Regions from separate parts of the Homo sapiens genome. Here region 1 is linked to region 2. The links are contacts of gene promoters, found by promoter capture Hi-C in human tissues and cell types (Jung and others, 2019). All regions are on one chromosome and are shown on one strand. Each heading gives the region's core, a stretch centred on a gene start or on the middle of the fragment in contact. The rest is flanking DNA. Distances are from core to core; before and after follow the strand shown. Region 1 overlaps RABGAP1 (RAB GTPase activating protein 1). Region 2 holds the start of ZBTB26 (zinc finger and BTB domain containing 26).

Region 1 (3,188 bases), core at 301-2,800, 110 kb before region 2:
TTCTCTTGGTAAAAAACAAAATTACAAAATCTGAAAAGTTCCAAACAGACACCTATGGAGGCGTAGTGATACAGCAGACTGGAAACCAAAAAGGTCTTAAAGACCCAAAACTCCATTCCCATAATTGGAAAAGAGGGACAATATTAACTTTGCCTATACTTCTAGGGGGATTAAATGAGACAATTAATAGGAAATGGCTTTGTAAAGAACCATAGGTAAAATAGTGCTATTATGCCCCCATTTACTATTTCAGTAATGTTCTATACCTGGGCCTCCTTCCCGATTTCCCTTTACTTCTGTTAAAATACATCTCTTTTCCTAAATGTGGTCTACACTTTTCATAGAAAATAATACACCTGGCTGGGCGCGGTGGCTCACGCCTGTAATCCTACCACTTTGGGAGGCCGAGATGGGCGGATCACGAGGTCAGAAGATCGAGACCATCCTGGATAACATGGTGAAACCCCGTCTCTACTAAAAATACAAAAAAAAACTAGCCATGCATGGTGGTGGGCGCCTGTAGTCCCAGCTACTCGGGAGGCTGAGGCAGGAGAATGGCCTGAACCCGGGAGGCGGAGCTTGCAGTGAGCCGAGATCGCGCCATTGCACTCCAGCCTGGGTGACTGAGTGAGACTCCGTCTCAAAAAAAAAAAAAAAAAAGAAAATAATACACCTACGTAAGTGAAAAGGTCAAACAGTACAAAGCTTACAATGAAATTCCCTTCACTCTTCATACCCTATTCCTTAGAGGCAACCATTTTCACCTCTCCTTTTTTTAAAGCTGTTTGTTTTTAATTCATACTTCTGAATAAAATGCTTAAGTTGCTATTTTCTGGGTTTTTCCACTTTAGACATCAGTTTCAGAGTTTACACTATGGAAGATGCTACTGTAGCTCTGTTACACCCACCCTCCTTCCCCTCACCCCCCAAACACTTCCCTTCCCCTCACCCTGTCAACAGTGTTGCTATCATTTTTGGCTAAACACCAAACTATACACAGCAACACATAACTGAATCAGAGTATGTCATGATCTTATTTCCTTTCTTCAATTTTCTATTTTTTTCTGAAGTTATTAATTGCCTATCTTTTTCTTTTCCTTGGTTTTCTATGTATCTATCACCAATTCTTCCCCTAAAAATCTCACAAAACTAAATTCTTCTCACCATGGTGAAAATCCCAACTATATTTTCCTAGAGACATACCTCCTAGTGCCTTCTTTGTTCCTGCTCCTATTTAGACTGGCTGCTCTCTAGGTCTCCTGCATAGTTGCTTTCGTAGAGCTTTCCTTCCTGTGGGAATTGTTTTCACCATCCTCCTGTGTCAGAGACCCTGTTTCCTGGATTCTGTATCTCTTTATTTATTTCCTCCCTCATTCTGGAGAAGCATATCCTTCAGTAACTTCCCGAGAAAGTACGTTAAGGCAGGTGAATATTTTGTGATTTTGCAGACCTCAAAATGAGTTTAGTTTACCCTCACACTTGAATGACAGTTTGGGCATAAAATTGTGGGTTGGAAATCACTTCTCCTCAAAATTCTGAAGCTATTACCCATTATCTTCTAGCTTTATTGTGGCAAAAAGTCCTCTGCTACTCAAATCCCTATACTTTGTATGTTTAGACTCCACCATCCATGCCCCACCCCATTCAAGAAGCTTTTAGGAATTTTTATCCCCATTGTTCTGAAATTTTATAACAATTTGCCATCATGTGAATCTTTTTATTACACTGAAATGGGCCTTTTCATTATGAAAACACGTATCTTTCAGCACTGGAAAATTTTCTTGTGATATTTATTAATTTCTTCCTTTCTTTTCCTCTATTCTGTTTCTGAAGATTCTGTTAGTCAGCTATTGGGTTCCCTGATTAAACCTCCGACTGTTTTGCTTTTTCATCTATTTTCTGTCTCTCTGCCTTTTTGTTTCACTATCTGACCTACTTCATTTTCTAGCCTGCTTACTGAAACAAACAAAAAAATTATTATACTTTAAATTGCAAGAGTTCTTTCTTGTTCTCTTCCTATTCATTTTTACTGCACTCTGTTCTCCCCTGCTTTAATGGATACAAAATCTTCTCTGAGAATGTTAGTTACAGTTGGGTTTTTTGGTTGTTTTCTTCAGCAACCTATATTCTTTCTGTTTCTTCTGATTTCTGTCATTTGCTTGATTGTTTTGGGCTCTGTACTTTATGTGAGAACTTTTTCTCAAAAGTGCAATTATCTCTGGCTGTCTGTTAATATTAAAAGTGAAGCAATAAAAAACTGTGAGCTCTGTGTGCATGGGTGGGATGTGTTGATTGATGGGCATCACCTTAAAGTGACCAGGCAGGGAATGTGGCTATTTTGTTTCTGAGCCCTCAAATGTCAGCCCCGAGAATACACTCCTCTCATATCCTGCTTAGAACATTCTGAGAGTGTAGTGTGGTAAGGGGGCTGATTATTTAACACACAGACTTTCTTACAGCAGTCATGTTTGCAACAAAGCACACCTTTAGTTCCATTCTCAGCTATGCCTGGCATCTAGAGTGGTTCAGCTTTTCCAAAGAGTAAATCTCCCACCTTCTGCTGCAATGGTGAAAACCAGTTGCCTGCTTGGGATGGGGATTCAGGTGGGATGGGGATTCAGGTGGGATGGGGAAGAGGAGTAAGGGGTGATGATGTCTAAATATTCCTTATATAAACTTTCTATCAATTACTCTGTTTTTCAGCTTCTATCAATTCTTGTTTTTTAGTCTCTATGCTTATAGGGACATCTTAGCAATCCAATTCCCAAGTAGTTACTGTGGTCAATAGACAAATCAGGCTGTTTCTTTTTGCTCCTCTTCCTCATTTGACTTTAGAAAGCAGCTCTGTTGATTCCGCTGAGTCAGTTACTACTCGTCCACTGAATTTCCATATTCCAAAATTCTGCTGGCATCACTGTCTGTCATCATCTCTGTTCTCCTTCTTTTTATCCATATTATACCTTTGCTATTCTTTATAGTGGAGTTAACAGAAATATGCATATTCAATCTGCTACATTTAGCAGGAGGTCTGTCATGTTTCTAAAGCCTAGGCTTACATAATGGTACAGAACACAAGCTTTAGAGTCAAAGAATTGGATTTGAATCATAACACTTACTATGTATGTAACCTTAGAAGCTTCTTAACCTCTCTAAGCCTATGTTTCCTCACCTATAAAATAGGAAAATTC
Region 2 (3,218 bases), core at 547-3,046:
TCATTACAACAAGATTATATAAAAATTATAGGCATTTACCTCGCTAGGAACAGACTCTCAAAATACATGAAGCAAAAATGGACAGAATTAAAAGGAGAAATAAACAGTTCTACAATAATAGTGGGAGACTACAATACCCCATTTTCAGTAACGGGGAGAAGAATCAGATAGAAGATAAGTGAGGAAATAGAGGAACTAAGCATCATAATAAACCAGCTATACTTAAAAGACATATACAGAACATTCCACCCAGCAAGAGCAGAATACACATTCTTCTCTAAAGCACATGAGGTATTCACCAGACTGTATGCCACAATTCAAGTTTCATAATATTTTACAAGATAGATATCATACAAAGTATCTTCTCGGACCACACAGATGAAGTTATAAATTAATAACAGAAGGAAAACTGGAAAAGTCACAAATATCTGAAAGTTAAACAACACTCTTAACAACTGGGTCAAAGAAGAAATCAAGGTCAGGCACGGTGGCTCACACCTGTAATCCCAGCACTTTGGGAGGCCAAGGCGGGTGGATCACCTGAGGTCGGGAGTTCGACACCAGCCTGACCAACACGGAGAAACCACGTCTCCATATCTCTAAATATCAAATTAGCCCGGTGTGGTGGCGCATGCCTGTAATCCCAGCTACTTTAGAGACGGAGGCAGGAGAACCGCTTGAACCCAGGAGGCGGAGGTTGCGGTGAGCCGAGATCACACCATTGCACTCCAGCCTGGGCAACAAGAGCGAAACTCCATCTCAAAAAAAAGAAAAAAAAAGAAGAAGAAATCAAAAGGGAAATTAGAAAATACTTAGAAATGAATGAAAATAACACAACATACAAAAACTTATGAGCTGTAGTGAAAACAGTGATCAAAGTGAAATGTATAGTTGTAAATAACTACATTAAAAAGAGGGAAAGGCTGGGAGCAGTGGCTCACACATGTAATCCCAGCACTTTGGGAGGCTGAGGAGGGTGGATCACTTTAACTCCAGAGTTCAAGACCATCAAGTTTTACACTTACAAATGATTAAAGTAATAAACATTACGCATGTTTTACCTCAATAAAAAGCCCCTCACCACCACCAAAAACGAAAAGAATGGTCAAAAACCAGTAAACTGGATTGGCAAGGAAAAGAACTCTAGAAGGATCCTCAAGTTTTCCGGTCTGGATAGGAGATGAGATGAACTTGAGATCATTAAAAGGTACTTTCACATCAGGACAGCTGGAGATCTCGTCCATGTAGCTGCCTGGGTTGTGAATGGTCAGCATGAAGTAGGTAACGGAAGCCATGGGAGTGCAAGAGTTTGCCCTAGGAAGAACTCCAAGGCAAGAACCCTGAAAAACACATCCAAAAGTGAGGGGAGAGCTTTCTGCTCTTCGGGCTCCCGCGCGACGAGTCTACACCCCTAGGCTAAAAAGACTTACCAAAGTTTAAGTGCAGAGGAGCCCTTCAGGCCCAAGGAGGCAGCGGACCGTCTAGGCCCAGCTACAGAAGAGCCGCTGAGACGGGGGTCCCGAGCAGCGGGTCCCTGCGAGGCGCACAGGGCCTGAGCCACAGACGCTTACGAGCTAAGGCACCTCGGGGTAGTAGGCAGTGAAGCTAGTGCCCAGAGTACGGTGCCCTCCGTCTGCGCCCCGCCCACAACGCAGAAATTCCCTCTCGGGGCCCCTGTTGTCCTCCGAGCCTTCCGATTGGCGGAGAGGACCATGGGACCTGGAAGTTGTCTTTGTCCGGCCAGGGCTGCCCTTCCGGTTCCGTTGGGTCCCCCTTTGGCTCGGGTTCCTTGCCCCTCCCCCTTCCCGGAGCCCCGAGGGGCCGGAGCTCCTGGCGGTGCCGGATCCTGACGGCGGCCTTCCCCCGGGTCTGTAAGTGCGGAGACGGCCGGAGCGGCGGGCTGGGGTGCGGGGTGTCTCAAAATGGAACCCCCCTGGGGCCCTGGATCAACCGGGACCTGCACTGGGATGGGAGCCGAGAGGCTGGCCTAGGCCCCTGGGGACTTGAGGAGCCCTTGGCCCGGCCCACGCTGCGCCCCGCCCCTTTCCCTTCCCTGTGACTGGAGTGGGGAGCCTGAGGATGCCCCTGGGACCGCCTCATAGGACCCCAGCTGAGGGCCCAGCAGTTGGCTTGGGGGCCTGACTCTGGCATCTTATAAGAAGTGCCAGAGGTGAGGCCCTAAGAAAACGAGCCTCGGGAGCCAGCCCAAGACCAGGCATTCAGTGCCAGTCTTTGAGAACCACTGTGAGTGCTAGGTTACCCTTTTGCTGGGGTTTTCCCCTATTTGGCCACTGGTCGCAGCACCTTTTATATTACTGGCGCTATACCAGACACTGGAGATTGGCAAGATATTGTTCCAGTTTTCGGGATTAAGTTTGGGAGCCAGATCTGAACAAATAAGTACTCCTATGTGTATATATATGTATGTATGTATCAGTCACATATGTGTTAATTGCTCAAGGGGCCGTTGCTGAGAAGGCTTTAGAAAGAAAGTGATGTCTGAATTGTACTTGGAGAGAGTAAAGTGTTGAAGAGTTTTTCAGGGAAGACAGTTGCAATACTGTGGAGAAATGACTGAGCATAACTTGTGTGGGAAGAGGAGGAAATGGGGGGACTCCTATGCACAGAATGGATATGAGACTGGGAAAGTCGACCGAGGTCCAGATGGTGAATGGTGTAATCCTAAAGGAGATGGGTAGTTTTTTGAAGAGTTCGGAACAGAATATTGATATGGTCAGATTTGCACTGCAGGAAATCATTTTGTTCTGTAGAAAGCCCATAGAGAAGGGACTTTCTATTAACTGCATTTAGACATTTAGCTAAAAGTTAGGAACGCTTATCGGAGATTCTTTTGAAGGGGTAATGGGATCAGCCTAGTGAGAGGCAAAAAATTCCTGAAATAAGTTATAATGGTGTCATTGGTAAGGAGACAAATATACTGGAGATGATTATGTCAAGACTCCATAATTAACTGAATGCTGAAGAAGTGTGAGGGACCAAATCTAATTCTTAGGTTTTAGACCTCTGAGCTGAAGGATGGTAATGCCATTATCAGAAATAAAGCCATAAGCTTAGTGTAGATTATGAATTCATTTTTTGGACATGTTGAATTAAAGGTCTAATGAGACAGACACATAGAGCTGTCCAGCATGGAGTTGGAAATGCAAATCTTTAGCTCAGCCTAAACATTGTAGCTAGAGGTAAAAGTTTGAGTTATC

The links. Contacts are between HindIII fragments. The study calls those that stand out against the background at their distance.
Region 1: a fragment that was not itself captured here is called in contact with the fragment with the promoter of ZBTB26 in region 2 in 3 of the 25 tissues and cell types used here (aorta, bladder and mesenchymal stem cells).

The regions. Positions count from the first base shown.
Region 1 is chr9:123,041,373-123,044,560 of GRCh38, reverse strand. All of the region lies in intron 13 of RABGAP1 (RAB GTPase activating protein 1), which reads right to left. It also overlaps a transcript of GPR21 not described here. Among named protein-coding and RNA genes, the nearest start is that of GPR21, 9.3 kb to the right of the region's middle. The HindIII fragment of the contact is 4,214 bases long and covers 1-3,188 here.
Region 2 is chr9:122,930,090-122,933,307 of GRCh38, reverse strand. ZBTB26 (zinc finger and BTB domain containing 26) reads left to right here and starts at 1,796. Exons shown (of 2, transcript NM_020924.4): 1 at 1,796-1,871. It also overlaps a transcript of RABGAP1 not described here. RefSeq lists a silencer at 1,685-2,024. The HindIII fragment of the contact is 7,569 bases long and covers 1-3,218 here.